Linked DNA regions of Homo sapiens: region 1 is linked to region 2. The links are contacts of gene promoters, found by promoter capture Hi-C in blood cells and fetal thymus (Javierre and others, 2016). All regions are on one chromosome and are shown on one strand. Each heading gives the region's core, a stretch centred on a gene start or on the middle of the fragment in contact. The rest is flanking DNA. Distances are from core to core; before and after follow the strand shown.

Region 1 (6,211 bases), core at 109-2,608, 200 kb before region 2:
GCATGCCTGTAATCCCAGCTACTTGGGAGGCTGAGGCATGAGAATTGCTTGAACCTGGGAGGTGGAGGTTGCAGTGAGCCGAGATCGGAGCACTGCACTCCAGCCTAGGCAACAGAGCAAGACTCCATCTCAGAAAACAAACAAACAAAAAAGAGCCTGGAACCTCCTCCCCTCTCTCTTGCTCCCTCTCTCACCATGCGACACACCTGTTTCCCCTTCCCCTTCTGACATAAGTGAAAGCTTCCTAAGGCCTCACCAGAGGCAGATGCTGGCACCATGCTTATTGCACAGTCTGCAGAACAGTGAGCCAAAATAAACCTCTTTTCTTTATAAATTACCCAGTCTCAGATATTCCTTTATAGCAATGCAAAATGGACTAACAATACATAAGTTAGGGAGTGTTAATTAGAATGGAAATTAAATATGCAGAAACTCAAAGGAAGATGAAATTGTTAGGGAAGACATATGTGTTAACCTAGTGAGGCTTGAATCAGATGTTTGGAAGAAATGAGGGAGGTTTCTGAGGCTCCTGGTGACCTTGCCATTGAGGACACATATACTTCTCCCCCTACACACGCCTTTTCTTCTTCCCCAGTACAATGAACATTAGGAATTACCTGCTCATTGTAGGGAAAATGACCACCCTTCAGGCATTGCTTTTCATGAAAAGTGGATTAGACAAGAGGAGAAGTGGTTACACTTTTTAATTGTTACATAATTGTTAGACTGTTTTCCCTATGGCAAAGTTGGGAAATAAGTAACTGTTGGAAACTAGAGGCCTTTGGAAGCAAGTAGACTCTTAGATTGGAAAAATGTGGTTCTAATCTAAAAGCAATGATACAATGAGAGCTGTTATGAATTAATAAAAACAGAACCAAAATTTATCTCATATGGCTGTTTCTTTTTCTAAATGCTCAAAATTATTTATTACTACCAAAGATTACAACTTGTCATTTCAGGCTGCCATAACAAAATACTATAGACTGGGGGGCTTAAACACCCAACATTTATTTTCTCATGGCTCTGAAGGCTGGACATCTGAGATCATGGTGCCAGCATGGCCGGTTTCCAGTGAGGCCCTTCTTCCTGGCTAGTTGGTGGCCACCATCTTGCTGTGTGCTCACATGACCTCTTCTCTGTGCCTGCACTGGGGGAGGGAGAGGCTCTACTGTCTCCTCTTATAAGGACACTAATCCTAATCCTATCAGGGCCCCTCCCTTATGATCGCATTTGACCTTAATTACCTCCTACAGGTTCTATCTCTAAATGCAGTCAGATTGGGGGAGAAGGCTTCAACATACAGATTTTCAGAGGGGGGACACAATTCAGTCCTTAGCACAACTACTGGATATTTAATTATTTATTTTAAAATCAAGGGAAAGACTGCCAGGAGAGGTGGCCACCAGTCAAGGCTCTGTGACATAAAAAGTGGATTATTTTCTAACTCGAAAATGAAGAAGATACTGTCCACTGTCACCATGGAGATGATCTATGCATTAGTCCCTTCCCCCACAAAAAGCGCTATTTCTGAATTGGGGAATGGAGAGGTATGGAATGAACAGAAGGCTGAGACCTGCCTACTGGAGCCACACCATGACCATCCAGTGTCTGGGAAGCCCTGGGTGGAGCTGGAAGCTGCTGATGAATTGGCAGCACTGATAAACCAAGACGAAGAGAAAACATCCCCAGCAGTGAGGGGTGGAGCATATGGTGGATAAGGAGTCTGTGGAGCCAGGCATCTGTCAGAAATGAGAAGTCAAAGCCAGCAGACAAAGTCAAGAGAGCAGAGGAAGTATTATTATACCAGTGGCATTAGAGCAGGAGACAGACAAGTAAAAAGGAATGATGAGTGCTGGCAGAAACAACAGAGTGCTGGACTGCCCTAGGCAGGCAAGGATAGCAAGGGAGGTGACAGAAGAATGGAGCCTCCACATATGGAGGAGTCTGCATGGGGAACTGTAGGGTGAGGAGGATTCCCAATTCAGGTCTTGGAAACACACAGATGTATGTGTAGAAAACACGGAGAGGGTCAAGAGCAAGATAGAAGCAGCCATGTGCTTTATGACCCAGTCATAGAAATCACCTATCAGTCCTTTCGACATATTTGTTAGAAGCATGTCCCTAAATCCAGCCCACATTTAAGGGAAGGAAAATCAGCCTCCTTCTTTTGAAAGAAGGAGTGTCAAAGAATGTATGGACATTTTTACTACCACATTAATTTTTCTTTAAAACTCCTCTTTATCTCACTTTTCTACTCAGAAATCTATTATATTACATTACATAAAATCCACACTCTCTTATTTATTCCGGGCTCTAAGGATCTATGCAATTGGGCTCCTTCCGGTTGTATTTTCCAGTGTTTTCCAGTGTGCTCCACTTTGGTTGACTCCTTACTGGCCTCTGAATGCCTCGTGACCATCTCAGCATTTCTGGGCTTTGGTTCCCACTTTAAGAGAGTTCTCTGATTGTGTCTTTATTAAGCTTGTGATTGAAACACAATTGAGCTGTTGCAGTTAAGACCATGGGCGTTGGCTTAGACAAGAGTGGGTACCAGTCTCTACCTATCTTACTCCCTTGGGCAAGTTCTCCGACCTACCTAAACTTTAGTTTCCTTATTTGTAAAACAGGGACAATAATAGATTGCGTGAACACTGCCACAGAGTTTATACTCCAGTTGTGGGAGGGATGAGAGGAAAAAAGAGAAAAACAAATGAAGTAAACTAGATAAACATAGAGTACAGCAGGTGTGAGAAGTCCTGAAGAGAAAGATAAAGAATAAGCTGGCAGGACTGCAGTGGGAGTGAGAGGATGAGGTGCATTTATGAAAGGAAATGAGTGATCCCCAAGGGGAGAATGTTCCAGGCAGTGGTCTTAAGGCAGGAATGTGCTTGCGACATTAAGCAACAGCCAGGGGGCAAGGGCAGTGGAGAGTGAACAACAAGGAAAAGGAAAAAAATAAAATCAGAAGGGAGGAGGGGAATTGTACCCAGCCTAGTGGGCCCTTTGACTTTTAATCCGAATGAGATGAGCGTCATTGGAGGGTTCAAGCCCAGGACTGATATAATCAGATTTAAGGCTGACGGCTGCTGTGCTGAGTAGACTTTGGAAGGAGTGAGGGCAGAAGCACAGAGACCAGGTAGAGGCCAACAGCAAAAATCCAGGTGGGAGTTATTGGGGAATGGGACTGGCGGGTAGTGGAAGGGGTGGAAAGAGTGTGGGAAATCTGGGTATTTGGAAGGTAGAGACGAACAGGTATATTTCTCGATTGAACAAGAATTATGAAAGCAGGAAGGTTGCCTCCATGGTTTTTGACTTGAGTCAAAAATGGGTAACTCCACTTTCCCCAATAGAGTTTCAGAGAAGGAAAAGATGGCAGAAAGGGCAGGTTTGAAGGTAGAAATTGAATGGACATGCAAAGTTGAGATGCCTGCTGAATATCCAAGTGGACATGGATGTATGGATACAGGGATCTGGTGGTTGGGGAGAGGTGGAGAGTGGACAGGGATTCCTTGATCTTTTATCTAGAATGTCCCTTTCCCACCTCTGCCCTCTTTCCTCTCAGCTGGTTCTACTTTCCTTCAGAGCACTCATCACCTCCCGGCATTTTCCAATCAGCTGACTATCTTGATCATTAGAAGGAAAGCTCCCTGAGATCAAGACTTTGTCTGCTGTATTCATTGCTTATTCCCCAATGCAATATTTGGAGCTTGATAAACATATATTGAAAAACTGCCATGGGCATAACAACAAATGCTCAAGACAGGGTCCTGCCTCTGGTAACCATCATTCTACTCACTATCTCTATCAGATCAATTGTTTTAGCTCCCACATATGAGTGAAAACATGTACTAGTTGTCTTTCTGTGCCTGGCTTTCTTCACTAACATAATGTCCTCCAGTTCCATCCATGTTGTTGCAAACTGCAAAATTTCATTCTTTTTTATGGCTGAATAATATTCCATTGTGTATATGCAGCATGCTTTCTTTATCCATTTATCCATTGATGGATACTTAGGTTAATTCCGTATCTTAGCTGTTGTGAATAGTGCTGCAGTAAAAATAGGAGTTCAGATATCTCTTTGATATACTGCTTTCCTTTCTTTTGGATATATACCCAGCAGTGGCATTTCTGGATCATAGGGTAGTTCTATTTTTAGTTTTTTGAGAAACTTCATATTGTTTTCCATAACAGCTGTACAAATTTACATTCTCACTAACAGTATACAAGCATTCCCTTTTCTCTGCATTCTTGCCAGCATCTGTTTTGTCTTTTTGATGAAAGCCATTTTAACTGGAGTAAGATATCTCATTGTGGTTTAATTTGCATATCCCTCATGATTAGTGAATTTGAGCATTTTTGCGTATACCTGTTGGCCATTTGTATGTCTTCTTTTGAGAAATGTCTATCAATGTTTTTTGCCTATTTTTAATGAGATTATTTATGTTTTATCTGTTGAGATATTTGAGTTCCTAGTATATTCTGGATATCAGTCCCCTTTCAGAGGAGTAATTTGCAAATATTTTTTCACATCTACTGAACTGATCATGTCCTTTTTCCTTCATTCTGTTGATATGATGTATTACTTTATTGATTTTATATATTGAACTATCCTTGCATCCCTGAGATGAATCCCACTTGATCATGAAGAATGATGTTGTTAATTTATTATTGAATACAGTTGGCTAGTATTTTGTTGATGATTTTTGCATCAGTGTGCATCAGAGATACTGGCTTGTAAAGTTTTTTGTTGTTATGTCTTTGTCTGGTTTTGGTATCAGGATAATACTGCCCTTGTACCATAGGTTTGGAAGTATTCCCTCCTCTGATTTTTGGAATAGTTTGAGTAGGATTAATAATAGTTCTTTAAATGTTTTGTTGAATTCAGCAGGGTAGCCATCAGGTCCTGGGCTTTTCTTTGAAGAGAAACACTTTTTATTACTGCTTCTATCTCATTACTTGTTTTTTGTCTATTCAGATTTTATATTTCTTCATGTTTCAATCTTGGTAGGTTGTATATGTCTAGAAATTTATCCATTTCTTCTAGCTTTCTAGAAGAAATGTATTGGCATATAGTTGCTCATAATAGTCTCTAATAATCCTTTGATTTTCTGTGGTATCAGTTGTTATGTCTCCATTTTTGTCTCTGATTTTATTTCTGTGGGTCTTCTCTTTTTCTTAATCTGGCTAAAGTTTTGTCAATTTTGTTTATCTTTTCAAAAAACAACTTTTCATTTCATTGATCTTTTCTACTTTTTATTAAGTATCACTTTCATTTATTTCTGCTCTGATCTTTATTATTTTTCTTCTACTAATTTCGAGTTTTGATGTGCTTTTGATTTTCTGTTTCTTTAAGATGCATTGTGAGGTTATTTAAAATCTTTCTACATTTTTGACGTAGGTATTTATTGCTATAAAATTCCCTTCCGGTAATGCTTTTGCTATACCCTATAGGTTTTCATATGTTGTGTTTCCATTTTCATTTGTTCCAGTCAATTTTTTATTTTTTTAATTCATCATTGACCCAATTGTTGTTCTGGAGTGTATTGTTTAATTTTTATGAATTTGTAGAGTTTTCAGAGTTTCTCTTGTTATTGATTTCTAGTTTTATTTTATTGTGGTTAGAGAAGATACCTGATATGATTTCAACTTTTTTGAATTTTTTGAGACTTGTTTTGTGGCCTGAGATATAGTCTATCCTTGAGCATGTTCCATGTGCTGAAGAGAAAAATGTGTATTCTGCAGCTGTTGGATGAAATGTTCTTTAAATCTGTTAGTTTCATTTGTTTTATTTGCAGATTAAGTCCAATATTAGTTTGTTGATTTTCTCTCTAAATGATCTATCCAATGCTGAACGGGAGTATTAAGATCCTCAACTATTATTAATGGGAGACTTGTATTGGGATTTAGCTCTAATAATATTTGCTTTATATATCTGGGTGTCCCAGTATTGGGTGCCTATGTATTTACAAGTATTATATCCTCTTGATGAATTGACCCCTTTATCATTGTATAATGACCTTCTTTGTCTCTTTTTACAATTTTTGTCTTGAAATCTATTTTATCTGATACATATACAGCTACTCCTGCTCTTTTTACATTTCCATTGCATAGAATAACTTTTTCTACCCCTTTATTTTCAGTCTATGTGCATCTTTACAGGTGAAATGAGTTTCTTATAGGTAGCATATAATTGGCTCTTTTTTTCAATCTT
Region 2 (6,386 bases), core at 2,796-5,295:
GTGAGTCATTCTAGCAAATTATCAAACTTGGGGAGTAGGTCATGGGAATGCCCAAATATGGAGTCAGCCTGGAAGAAGTCCAAGTAGGTTGGGAATACCTGAGACTTGTGGCTGGCATCTGAAATGGAGGCAGTCCTGTGGGACTGAGCGCTTAACCTGTGTGGCAACTGTGCTAACTTCAGGCAATTAGTAACGAAATTGAATTGCATTGTAGGACATTCAGCTGGTGTCAGGGAATTGCTATTGGAATGATGTATCATTAAATGGGCGGGTGGGTGTGTTTCATACATACTTTCTTTTCTCATAAATTATATATTTAATAGGAATAATTCAACTACTGTGAATTTAAAAATCAAACAAAAAACTATGAAGTTGCACATACTTTTAACTTATGGGACAAGTCATTATTCATAGGTGTTAAGTCTCAAAACAGGCAGGATTGCCTGGATTTTCTCATTTGCAATTTTATCTTTCAATCTAACAAGAATGGCTTCATTAATTTTTTACACAAAACATTATTAATCTAGGCATTTTCTGGCTTATTTCCCAATAACTTACTCAGAATTTGGCACATCAAAAACTTCATTGCTGTTTACCTCAGTATTGAAACAAAAACAAATGAAAACTTATTCCCAAGTGGCATTGTAACGACCACTTGATTTTCCCCAAGTGAAGGCTTTAATAACTCAAAGGGGTTACAATTCATGCAAACGAAGAAAAGCTACAATGCTACTTTCATGCATAGGTATACTAAATATACATTTACATAGTCTCAAAATAGTCCTTGTCTGAAATATTTGCTAAATAACAAGAATGCAACAACTTTTTGACCAAAATGATCTTCTGCATTCCTTCCTAGGTAGAGCATTAATTTAAGTATATTTACCTAAAATTGGTTTCTTATAATTTTAAATGTAAGCTATTATTACTTAACAAATCAGCTTTTAATTATAAGCTTATTATTTTAGCCTACAGAAAAATATTTATAAGGTCATTTTGTTTGAAATGTCACTGTCTTCATTTTTCTCATTATCTTCCTTCTGTTTGGTGAAATGATGTAATAAACTGCTGCAAATTCTGTTTCTCACTCTACTGTTGGTTCATATTTGCAGATCATCATAGCTTAATTGATATAATGAACAAATGCCTCTTAAAAAACTTTTACTGGTCAGCAGAAATAAAAAACAAACCCTTCACAAACTACATTGATAATAGTCTCTGTCCCTAGCACTATCATAATTCTCAAAAATCTCAACAATTTTTCACCAAACTAAAATCTCTATTTTTTTTTTTTTTTTTTTTGAGACGGAGTCTCACTCTCACCAGGCTGGAGTGCAGCGGCGTGATCTCGGCTCACTGCAACCTCCGCCTCCTGGGTTCAAGCGATTCTCCTGCCTCAGCCTCCTGAGTAGCTGGGATTATAGGCACGTGCCACCACACCCAGCTAATTTTTGTATTTTTAGTAGAGACAGGGTTTCACCATGTTGGTCAGGATCTCCTGATCTCATGATCCACCCGCTTCGGCCTCTCAAAGTGCTGGGATTACAGGTGTGAGCCACCATGTCGGGCTAAAATATCTACTCTTTAACAATTATTAATTATCCATCCAGTAGAAAAAACTGAGGAAAATAAACCTGAGTAATATTTACCCAAGTCTCTTGTTTTTGAATTGCTTCTGTCATGGAGCAAGGAAGCACAGATTTTGATCACAAGAGATTTTGATTTTTCTAAATATCCTTGAATCTATCTAGAGAAATATGCTAAAGGTACAGTTCAGGAACAAAAAAAAAAAAAAACAAAAAAACAAAAAACCAACACCCAATGGTCCCAATTCAATACTGCTTTTTAAAATTAAGCCTTCTTATCACACAACAAGTTATTTTTGTTATATGTTTTATCATTCTAACTCATATTCCCAAACTTTTCAGGATTTTACTTATCTATCAAAAAATCCCAATTATATTCCTGTTCTTTCCAATCCCCCTAAAAAAAAAAAAGCAGTATGTCTCATTCTCTTCTCTGCTGATAGGAGTGTAAAATGGATCACTCTATGAAGGGCAACTGTAAATATCTATCATATTTGCAAACACATTTCCTCTTGGATCCAGCAATTCTTTTCAGAATCTGACAGTTACCCCTGCAAATGTAGAAATGACATGTATTCACTGAAGAGTTGTTTCTAATATCTGAAGACTGGAAACAACGCCAAGTGTCCACCTACGCGTGATTTACTGTATAAACTGGAGTATATCTACAAAATGGAGTATGTGACAGGAAAAAATAAGTTTAATTGAATACTGATAAGGAGGAATATCCAGAATATACAGTAAAACAGGAAAAAAAAAAACATGAACAATGCAGAAAATATTGAAGGAGAGACCGAGTGAAATAAGACTGTATATTCTCATCTGCTTGTATCTCTGCATGAAGACCGGAAGGATAAACAAGAAACTAATTTAAAATGATTACCCGTGAAGACTATTAGGAATGGTACTGGATAGGGACTAGGGAGGAAGTGTTTCTTGCTGCATTTCTTTTCATGTAGTTTGAGCCATGTAAAAGAAATATTTGCTAATCAAAAAACAGCTTTAAAAATCCAGTGGGAGAGGCTGGGTGCAGTGGCTCACCCCTGTAATCCCAGCACTTTGGGAGGCCCAAGTGGGTGGATCACCTGAGGTCAGGAGTTCGAGACCAGCCTGGCCAAAATGGTGAAACCCCGTCTTTGTATTTTTGAAAAATACAAAAATTAGCCTGGCATGGTGGCGGTCGCCTGTAATCCCAGCTACTCGGGAGGTTGTGGCAGGGGAATCGCTTGAACCAGGAGGCTGAGGTTGCAGTGAGCCGAGGCTGCGCCACTGCACTCCAGCCTGGGCGAGAGAGTGAGACTCCGTCTCAAAAATTAAAAAAAAAAATCCAGTTGGAGAATCAAAAATTTTTAAAAATTTGACTGTGTAATCCTACAAGAAGTAAGTAGCTTGAGAAAGAGAAATGCTGATAAAGTCGCATTAAGTTTCAGAGTTGAAATTCAAGCTCCTGTATCTAACATGTTTCCCTGTTTAAGGTAGAATTTAAAAAAAAACTATATATGACATATATATGTCAACCCAAAAAAATAAAGCAGTATATATTATATATATAAGAATATATATATATTCTCCTTTATATGTTTTTTGTTTCACATATATATATAAATATATATCTCAACCACAAAAAAATTTGGTTTGTGACAAAGATGCACTTATTTGCACGAACCTATCTTGTTAATGATCAAGAAATCTGCTTTGTTACAATCATTAGAGGACAGAAATATACATACATATTTAAATCTATTTAATGAAATGCAGTTTTATGTTAAAAATCAATGATCTGCTAACCTAAAGAGTCGCACAGGAATACTATGATTATTAAACACAATGCGATTCTCTAAATAAGTAAACACGTGCAATGATATCAAAGTTCAAAATTCTCTAATTCTTCCACAAAGACTATGAAAATCACCTTGGAGTGTATGAACCAGCGTCCTGGCCCCGCCAGGTCGGGGCTGGGGCGGGCGCGGGCCGGGAGCGCTTACCCCGCGGCAGGAGCGATTCAGCGCCACTACCTGCTTCGCCTGGTTGTGGTGTGGCTGCTGCGCCAACCGAAAGGCCTCCTTAATCCGCAGCAGTCTCTTTTCGCTCCCATGGCTCTGGGACTCTGTCCGGACTAGCCCTGTCCGCGCTCGGCTACATCCGGCCCGCCCACCAGCTCAGAGGCAGAGTTCTCCGCGGTGTCTCCTAGGGTTTCTTGTCAGAGGGCCCCAGGCGCCTAGGGAGTCGTTACCGCCCTGGCATTCAAATAACTCCCGCGAGAGGCGGAAATCCCGCGAGACTGCCGACAGAGCGTAGGGAAGTGGAAAAGTGGAGCCTGCACCGCCCGCTCCCGGCACCCCCGGACACCGCCCCGGTCTCACGCATGCGCAGAGGGCCGATCCAGTTCTTTTCGGCTGGAATGGGGAATTTGTGAGGTAGGCCGGAAGTGGTGTTGCGGAGGGAAGTGTGGGGAGAGCAGAGGCGCAGCTCTGCTGGAGAGACCTGAGGCTTGCAGCGCTGGGCCCGGCCGGGTCGCTGCGGCTGGGCTGGAGGTGAGGCGAAAGAAGGGCATCCTCTGATGGGAGTGGACCGGAGTCCGCTAAAGCGAAGCATTCCAGGGTTCGTTGCGGGAAATACAGTCTGGTTTTGCCCCCCGTATGAATTGAGGGAAGGTGAGAGCAGAAGCAATCCGGGCCTGAAGGGCGATTATTCTAGGGTCGGCCGAGGGGTTCAGGCCAAAGTTCATTGAAATCCTAGCTGGGTCCCTGGAGGACGAGAAAACCGGTCAGGAGTCTCCTGGGAAGAGGGTCATGTTTTAATCTAGCTAAAGCTGGTACCTGGCAGTTTCCACTCTTAAGGCCTAGTGTACTAACTAATGTGTGCGCAATGTCAAAACAGGAAACAAAGGGAAATGCAAGAGGTGGAAGGTAATTTTAAGTTAGTGGCAGTATGACAGATTTCCAGTGCCTTCAGGAAGGTATCCAGCCTTAAAGATGCTTTTTTTAAATAGACGATTTTAGACAGAAAAAAGGTAGAAACAAAACTATAACACATGTGTACTCACCACTGAATTGGAGAAATAAATGATTATATAAGTGATTGAAGTCCTTTGTCAGCTCTACCCCGTCTCATTCTCTTTCCTTTTGCCTAAGGAAACCACTCTCCTAACCACCTTTATGCAATCTGTAATGTGTACATCTTTTTGCAGCTAGCTTGTTTTACATAATGTTTTTGAGATTTGTCAGTGTTGTGTAACTCCACCTTATTCATCTTAATAGCTGAACAGATATTCTGTTATTTTAATATGTCACTGTTCATTGTTTAGTATCTCCAGTGCCTGACATACTTTAGGCACTGTAGGTAGCTAAATGTTAGTTGAATGCATGGCTGCTGTAGCATTTGAACTAAGTAGAAAAGAATAAATAGGACTTCATGTGACCCAACAAGAGTATTCCAGGCAAAAGGAATACTAGCCAAAAGCAGAGACATGAAAGTGCATGAACTATTTCAAGAATTTCCATACTTTTAGTACTGAAATGTAGAATGTATGGAGATCATGTGATGAAGGAGAAACCTGGAAAGATGAGGCTTAAGCTTAAAGGATATTATCCTGAAGAGCTTACACAAGCTCGGCGCCATTAAATGCTTTTCCAGTTATGAGGAAGCTGATTAGAGCTGTATTTTCAGAAGATGATACAGCGCACTAGAGATATATCTTAGGATATAAAAGATTAGTGACGGGGAATTTTAGACTATCAAGCATTGTAACAATAACAATCATTGCATTAAGCAAGTAAGACAACCAGCCAGACTAAAAATCCAAAAACATTTTCCTAGTCCATCATATTATCACATTCCTTAACAATTATTAATATTTCATATTTTCTTCTGACAAACTTGCAACATTTTCTACTTCGGCCTCTTACTTAGATGATACCTCACATCCTATTGAGTTAAAAAAAAACTTCCCCATGCTTTCATCACCACATCTACCAGACCTGTTCCCTAATATACTGCCACTGCTGTTACTATAGATGAACTGTCTGATTTAGGAGGGAGAGTAAACCCTTTAAAAATATCTTTTTAATACAATAGTAACTGAACTAGTGTTACAAACTTTCAAGGGGGGATTGAAACGTGAATAGTAAGAATATGAAAGAATGGAATAGTTAAAAGACAATTGCTTCTAAGAGATAAATGATCCATATATAGTAATATAAAAATAAGATACTTTTTTAATGTATATTTCTTTTTTTCAGGTAGATTTAGGTTCTAAGCTTTAAAAGCTAAATCTAAATTTACATGTATGTTTTTATAGGATCATTGTTTCTACTATTTCTTAACATAAGCAGTTTATTATGAAGTAGAATCTTTAACAATCCTGTTTTAAATAATATGTTTTATTAGCCTTCGTCTTACATATTTCCCAGTTGTCCAAATATAGTTGGATAACTTATTTGTTACTGACTGTGATAAAAATAGAGTGTACATTGTACAGTTTACTACAGGTGTCATTAATTTTCTCATTCTCTCATATGCATTGAGTAACTACCATACAGCAAGCACTATTCTAGGAACAGGTAGATAAGATTTATTAGTGGAAAATCACTTACCTAAAACCATATCATATAACCGTGTTAATGCACCTTGGTGTATGAGAAACTTTCAACTACAAATATTTGATTACCTTAATTGCAATTCTTAAGGGAGGCTAAGTAGATGGATAGCTGAATAAAGTTATTACTTGGAAATGTTGCCATGTAGCCGCAGGAGCCAATTTCAGTGCACACATCTTAAGCATCAGTGTACACATTTATA

Evidence for each region. The method cuts DNA at HindIII sites, captures the fragments that hold promoters and counts their contacts. A CHiCAGO score of 5 or more calls a contact.
Region 1: a fragment that was not itself captured here is called in contact with the fragment with the promoter of FAM200B in region 2 in 1 of 17 cell types (M1 macrophages); the score reaches 6.3 in M1 macrophages.

What each region holds. Positions count from the first base shown.
Region 1 is chr4:15,481,380-15,487,590 of GRCh38, forward strand. The region is part of intron 4 of CC2D2A (coiled-coil and C2 domain containing 2A); the gene reads left to right. Among named protein-coding and RNA genes, the nearest start is that of CC2D2A, 15 kb to the left of the region's middle. The HindIII fragment of the contact is 2,241 bases long and covers 239-2,479 here.
Region 2 is chr4:15,677,782-15,684,167 of GRCh38, forward strand. It overlaps FAM200B (family with sequence similarity 200 member B), which reads left to right and starts at 4,046. Exons shown (of 2, transcript NM_001145191.2): 1 at 4,046-4,120. It also overlaps a transcript of FBXL5 not described here. RefSeq lists enhancers at 3,546-3,845, 4,016-4,255, 4,266-4,315. The HindIII fragment of the contact is 4,207 bases long and covers 954-5,160 here.